Regions from separate parts of the Homo sapiens genome. Here region 2 is linked to region 1. Evidence: promoter capture Hi-C in human tissues and cell types (Jung and others, 2019). All regions are on one chromosome and are shown on one strand. The core of a region is centred on a gene start or on the middle of the fragment in contact, and the rest is flanking DNA. Distances in the headings are between cores, read along the strand shown.

What was found. Contacts are between HindIII fragments. The study calls those that stand out against the background at their distance.
Region 2: a fragment that was not itself captured here is called in contact with the fragment with the promoter of PENK in region 1 in 1 of the 25 tissues and cell types used here (dorsolateral prefrontal cortex).

What each region holds. Positions count from the first base shown.
Region 1 is chr8:56,445,361-56,448,815 of GRCh38, reverse strand. PENK (proenkephalin) reads left to right here and starts at 2,175. Exons shown (of 4, transcript NM_001135690.3): 1 at 2,175-2,247; 2 at 2,335-2,390; 3 at 2,860-3,000. The coding sequence starts at 2,863. PENK-AS1 (PENK antisense RNA 1) reads right to left here and starts at 3,009. Exons shown (of 4, transcript NR_125813.1): 1 at 2,316-3,009. RefSeq lists an enhancer at 2,513-3,404. The HindIII fragment of the contact is 6,864 bases long and covers 1-3,455 here.
Region 2 is chr8:57,647,803-57,651,404 of GRCh38, reverse strand. No RefSeq gene overlaps it. Among named protein-coding and RNA genes, the nearest start is that of LINC03018, 97 kb to the left of the region's middle. The HindIII fragment of the contact is 3,939 bases long and covers 1-3,520 here.

The DNA of each region.
Region 1 (3,455 bases), core at 926-3,425:
GTGGAATAAATTATCCCTAAAACCTCTCCCAAACTTAAGCTTCTACTTTTCCAAGATCCTAACGAGCCTTTGTGTCGCCAGGGTGCAGAAATGCACTGTTTCCACTACTGCGCGCTGTGCACCCTTAAAAAGCATCGCGTGATGTGGTCATTCCAAACACACACACACACACACAAACACACACACACACACACACACACCTACCTCAGCCTCCCGCTCCTGATTATGCGTTTAAAGTTCTTAGGTGATCCCAGGTTCGCAAGTGCTCAGCTATAGCAAGTTTCCTTTAATTTTAGGTAGAATTTGTTCATGCAATACTTTCGCACTGAGTACTGCAGTGGAGTCAGCTTCCTTTCCAAAGCCCAGGCAACAAGGAAAAATCTGAAGTAAAGACAAAAGCTCTCCTTTGCCTTGGGGAGAGAGTAAGGAGCTAGTAAGGGGCCCCATGATGAAAAGAACCTAAAGCGGGAAACATTGTGTTTTCCTGCTCAGAGGGTAATGCTGGCTCCCTAGGGCTATGTCCGGGGTTCTCCAGCCCCACTCCAGGGCTCTGCTTTCCCGACCTTGCTACCGTGATGCCCCGGCCGGGAGGCAGGCGGTGCTCGGGTGCAGCTTCGGGGCTAATCCGAGGGCTGCGTGTCAAGCCCGCACATTGAGGCCTGCGGAGAACTGAGACCCCAGTCCCCGCAAGCCCAGCCTACGCAGGAGAGCGCTGCCCTCTAGCGACTATAATGGGACATGCAGCGCGGCCGGAGCCCCGCGGGAGCAGCGCCGCTGCAGGTCCTAGCGACTGTAGAAATCAGCCCTTTGCAGAGGGCGCAGAGGGCCTGGAAACCTCTGGGACCTTTTCCCAGGAACTGTTTATGGTTTCCCCCTAGGTCTAGGAGACATAGATGCATAGGTGGATTGGATACATCGATGGTAGCTATAAGGTAAGCAGACAATGGTCACAGATGGAAAGGTGGACGGACGGATGACGGATGGTTAGAAGATGTTTTGAGGGCTTGCTATAGTGCCAGGCACAAGGCTAAGAGATTTCGTCCACTATTTCATTTGATTCTCTCCAGAACCTTATGAATGGCATATTACCTCTGTTCCTATTTTTCAAATAGGGAAACTGAGGCCTCAGGCAATGTAAGCAGCTTGCCGCTTAGCAATCTTTTGCAGAGCCAGGAAGCGGGAAAGCGTGTCTTAATGGACAGTACCAGCCTCCACAGTGTGCCCTCGGCCCCCTCCCGGTGGAGAAGAGGTTCCAAGCCCCGGCGTCCCGGGTAGGGTGTCCCTCATCCCTCCCTCCCCACCACACTCCTGGCGCGCTGACATTACACCCGCCCCGGCACCCCCCTCTCACTGATCCAACACCCCCGGACACCCTGGACAGCGCTCTCAAGGCAGTAGGTCTTCGACTTGGGAGCCCCGGGGAGCTGGTTAAACACGGATCCTCTCCCACAGTGGCTGAAAAGCGCGCAGTCCCGGAACCTGAGGGTTTACCTGCTTCTACGCTTGGCCAAGGGTCTCTAACTGGAAAGGTGAAAATTCTGTCCTGAGATTTTAAGATTCCCAGAAACTTTCAATCGTTCAGTTCCTGTAACCATTAATTGAGCGCCTAAACTGCGCACCTTGACGCTGTTAGATGCTGCAGTAAGGAACTCGGAGTCAAGTGTGGGGGACAGGTTGGTCAATAAATGACGACATTCCGGACGGCTGTGCTTGGTGCCCACGGGGACCCGCGAGGGGGCCCAGGGAGGAGGCGGGAAAGGGGCAGGTTCACCGGCCCGCTGGGTCTCCAGCACATTCCAGAAGTCTAAGCCAGTCCATCTATCCTTCCAAACGCCCCCACCTCGCTTCCCTCCCTGGAGCCCGCATCCCACGGTGCAATTTCAGTGACTTTATGCGGAGAAACTTGATCCTATCTCACTCTCCCCAAACTTCCTAACTGCCTTGGGTTTGTCACCTGGCCGTGTGGGGAGCCACCGAGCGCCCCCTGTGGCCCCCACCCGAGCTCGGCGGGGGGAGCGGCGCGCGGGTGCTGGGGGACCGACCCCTCCCGCGAAGGCGTCGGCGCGGGGCTGGCGTAGGGCCTGCGTCAGCTGCAGCCCGCCGGCGATTGGGGCGCGCGCGCCTCCTTCGGTTTGGGGCTAATTATAAAGTGGCTCCAGCAGCCGTTAAGCCCCGGGACGGCGAGGCAGGCGCTCAGAGCCCCGCAGCCTGGCCCGTGACCCCGCAGAGACGCTGAGGACCGCGACGGTGAGGCCCTACGTCCGCCAGCACACCCGGGCCCGCTTCTCCCCGACGCCCGCCCTCCTCACACTTGCCTTCTTCTCTTCCCTCTAGAGTCGTGTCTGAACCCGGCTTTTCCAATTGGCCTGCTCCATCCGAACAGCGTCAACGTGAGTGAATTTGCCCGAAGCTTGTCTTTGCTGAGCGGGTTTGGGGACGTCTGCCCGCCCTCTTTCCCTTCACATTTCATTGCATGGGTTCCCCAACAGCGTTCCCTGGTTCTTCTTTGTGACCCCAGTCAATGTCCTGCCTCCCCCGGCTCCCGCTCTCTCGCCCCTGGTCTGCGGCGTTCTCTCCGGAATCTTGCCCTGGGCCGCGGACGCCCAGGAAAAGAGCCGGGTGCCCCAGGCAGCCTCGCGTTGGGGGCGACCGCGCCATCCCGGGAACCGCGAGGCGATCTGAGTCGCCTCCACGTCTACCTAAAAGCTGTCGGCCGGGAGGGCGGGGCCCCAGAAAGGAGCATTCCTGCGGGCTTTTGCTCGACGATCCCCTGCTGAGGCTGTCGCGGCGAGGGTCCTGCCGAGGGACCCCGTTCTGCGCCCAGGCAGGCTCGAAGCACGCGTCCCTCTCTCCTCGCAGTCCATGGCGCGGTTCCTGACACTTTGCACTTGGCTGCTGTTGCTCGGCCCCGGGCTCCTGGCGACCGTGCGGGCCGAATGCAGCCAGGATTGCGCGACGTGCAGCTACCGCCTAGTGCGCCCGGCCGACATCAACTTCCTGGTGAGTGTTGCGCGCGGCGAGTGTTGCGCACCTTGTGAGACAGAGTTTCCGCAACAGTACGCGGACTGCCTCCGGCCCACCGCGCGGCGCGTATGGCGGTTCGCACCGGGTCGGAGCCGCAGCGGCGCGAGCCCGTGGTGACCTGGGTGTCTCAGCTGTTCCTGGAACACTGACTGAAGTCCTGCCCTGGCTCTTAGCTTCGGGGATCCGCGACTATCTGGGGACCGGTAAGGGTAGCGGTGTCGCCGCACAAACCAAGTTTGTTTTAACCCTGGGAATTCGGGAACCCCGAGAAGTCCTCTGTTCAGCACCTCGGATAGCACTGGGTTCTCTCCTGGGCTGTCAGAAGGAAGATGGCTGTCACCACAACTCCTAACATATCCCAGCTAAGGGCCCCTCCACACGCAGTCATCTTCCCATCTTTCCCACAAATAATGTAATTTTTTGTTAGTGAC
Region 2 (3,602 bases), core at 302-2,801, 1.2 Mb before region 1:
GAAAAAAGAAAAGAAATCTCAAAGGTGAATTTTAAATGCGGGTAAAGATTTCTATGTCATAATAAAAAGATTTCATGAATAGAAGAAATCACTTCAATTCTGCACAAAATTTCCCAATTCCAGGACATAAATAGCACATGGAAGCTGATAAGCTGCCTCTCACCATCAGACTTACCATCCGGAGACCTGAACCCCAAGCCATGAGTACTCGTGGGAGCCATAGGTGATGTTTTTCCAGTATGTTGACTGATCTTACCAGACAAAGGCAGAGATACTTGCACTGACCCTCCAATGTCCAGGATGGCACACAGTATGCTAAAGGCACCCCAAAATGTTAATTTAAAGAGGAAAGCCTAAATCAAATCAGTCTTCAATGTAATTCCTGTTCATACTCTCCCTAGCTAAATCTCAATTAATAGACCAATAGGGCCAGCCAAAGTTTACATTAAACAAACACTTGCAGGTAAGAAGAGAATTGAGGATGGAGGATCATGCATAGAATCAGAAAATGGAGTCATTCAGAAAGCCAAGTTAATGTGCTAAAGTCTTCTATGTCTCTCTTCCTGCCTTCCACTTTGTGTGATGCATCTGTAATATTCACACTCTGTCTATGCTACAGGCTTAGTGAGTCATGGTACAAGTATCCAACTGGACTCTATTCTGTTTTTTTCTCTAAACAAGGGAGAGTTCATCTCTCTCAGTGATGACACAGTATTGCCCTGTCTCACTATCTGCCAAACTGATTATTCAAATTACTCATTACTGTACTTAGTGCTAATTCCTGTGGTGTACCTGGTAGTAATAAATACCATTTTACCTAACCAGTCTTTAATTAGGCCCAAGTCAATCCCTGTAAATGAAGCAATGTTCACAACACTCCTAGAAATTTATCTACAAAATTCACAAGAAACCATTTTCTACCTTTCCTCCATGCACATAAAAAATTCCTCCAAACATAAAAAATTAACAGACTGAATTATACTGTCTTGCAGATGGAACCCTCGAATGTTAGCATTTCTTTTACTGTTGTGAATGAGGCAGATGTTATCATCACACCAGCCATAACTTATATGGCATGATCCCCTCCTAAAGCTACTTTCTATTCTTGCCCCTTCAGGCCCTTTTATCAATAGGATCAGGGAAGGGACATAAACTGCTCACTATCACACAGAAATGGTGCCTGTCCCTATCTCATTCTGCTCACCAGTGCCATCTCCCACTTTAATGAGGCCTCAGCTCCTGAAATGGCACCTCTATCCTTCACTCCAATCCTCCACCTACTGCTGTGTCTCACACTTGTTCTAATCCTGGTTTGGGCAGGGATAAAATGTAGACTACTGCCATTAATGGCACTTTAATTATTTTTCATTTGTTTTGTTATCTACCTCTTTTGGCAACTTCTACTTTGTCATTTAGTTCACTAACTGACCTACACAGTACATGGTGTGTCTTTGTCTTCAAAGTCACACAAGATTCCTGAACCTATTCAGGGAAGAATAGAATTTCCTCTCTGTAAATCCATAATTTAACTAGAAGATTTAATTTCCTTCTCATGATCAGTTTCCCTTGAGGTTATATTCTTTTGCAAAGGGAGGTCAATGTTTAGTTCTGCACTCTCTGGCTTAGATCAGATCTTTATTGCCCTCCTGATAGACAAAGTACAGGAAGCAAGTCCATGTGTTCCAAGGTGGAGTTCAAGTTGGATAAAACAACTGCTTAAGTCTTCCATCTTGCATATTGGAAAGCACAGTTTCTTCTGGTTTCATCATATTAAAATATATTTTATCTATGACTTTGACTTATTGATAGAGGGAAAATATCAACACACTCAAAGAATGTAACAAAGACCAATTTTGGGAACTCTAAGTAGAGAAATCATAGTCATTGGTTTTCTGCAATCAAAGCTTGATTTATTGTAAAAGGGTCTATCTACGGTCTACACAAATCTAGTTACGAAGATCAGAACTTCTGATAATATAGAAAGAAAAGTATCTTGGATACAAAAGCTTTGCAATAGCTCTCAAAGATTATAAAAATAAAATTTAATAATGCAAATGAGAGCAATCTTGAGAAGGAATACACACACACACACGCACATGCACACACATGCACACACACACACACACCCCACCCTGGTTCCCAGGACCTGTGCCTGCTCTGGCCATTTGCTGTTTGCCCCTTCAGACCCATCCATTATCCCTCTCTGCTGTCCCTGGACACTGTACTCTAGGAAGTGCTTTAGCTGAGCTTCTTGCCCTCTGGCTTCAAGTTTGGCCAACAGGAGGTACCAGCAGGATATCATAGTTTGCGGATAGAGAAATCGAAGGATCTATTCCTTGAGCTCCCTCTCTACTGGACCAAAGATCAACAATGGCTCTGTTCCATGGCCAAAGCCCATAGGTCTTACTGAGTGATCTTCTCCTAAAGCTGCTCTCTATTCATGCCCCTTCAGGCCTAGGAGTAGTAACATTCCCTGGCTTATTTACTTATTTATTTATTAGCTCTGATGTGCATCATTATCCTCAGTTAATTTCCTTTAAATCTATCTGTACCTTTGTAAATCATGTCTTCATTAACCTCTCTTCACTTATCCCACTGAGTGTGTCATCTGTTTCATGCCAGACCCTAAGTGATCAACACCCATTCTTCTCTGCATAATTGGGGCAACATCATTTTTACCAACTTGTTCTGCTTAATCTCATTTCCAGCACTAAGCCTAACCTACAATGGGTATTAGGCAATCCCAATTCCTCCAACTTCTCAGACTCTGCATTACATCTGCCTCGTAGGTTGTTGGGGCCCTGAAACATGCTGATGTTTCTCTCTGTCATGCTTATCTGATGGGACATCCAAAGCAAAGACCATGATTTTATATCATGGGAACCGGACTTCTGCTTGGAAATGAACTTCTGCCTTGAACCCTAGGCCAAGCACTTATCCTGCTTTCCACTTAGAGTAAATTGATTCCCTCTTTATTCCTGAGTTGAGTCTCTCCCTAGGTAACCTATCTAGCCCCTTAAACCCTCTAGAAATGGAGGGTGGGTGGAAAAGCCTGAGGACTTTGCCCACTGTGGGTGACTGGCCCACACATAATTCTCAGTTGGACCTTCAGAAACCTGGAGCAAGATGCAAAACCTGAGTTCTTCTCAGTTCTTCTCTTTCCTTAACCAGTCACTCATTAATTGAGGTCATTTCCTTACTGTCCTCTAGCCACTGCTACTTTATCTATTAAAAATAACACTATCATGAGTTTATTGAGTGTGGCAGGATAATTGGATGATAATTTGCCTATCACTCTTTCTACAGCATTTCCTGATTTCCCAACCTTCTTCACAGTCAAGCAACAGTGAGAGTTCCTACACGAATTTCCCTAGGCTTTTAACTTTCTAAATAGATTTTTGAAACCTGTGACTGAGAAAATAGCTTGACAAAAGAGGTGTATGAGTCTAAAACGCCTCTGTTTTGAGCTTCAAAATTCAGATCTGTAAAGGATTCTGAGCATTATATTGAAGCCATAACACTAGCAATGTGGGTTTCTCAAAAGGGCTGAGCATCCTTCTCCCACTAGCTAAGCCAGTGGAGGGAAGGGGTATTAGAACCCT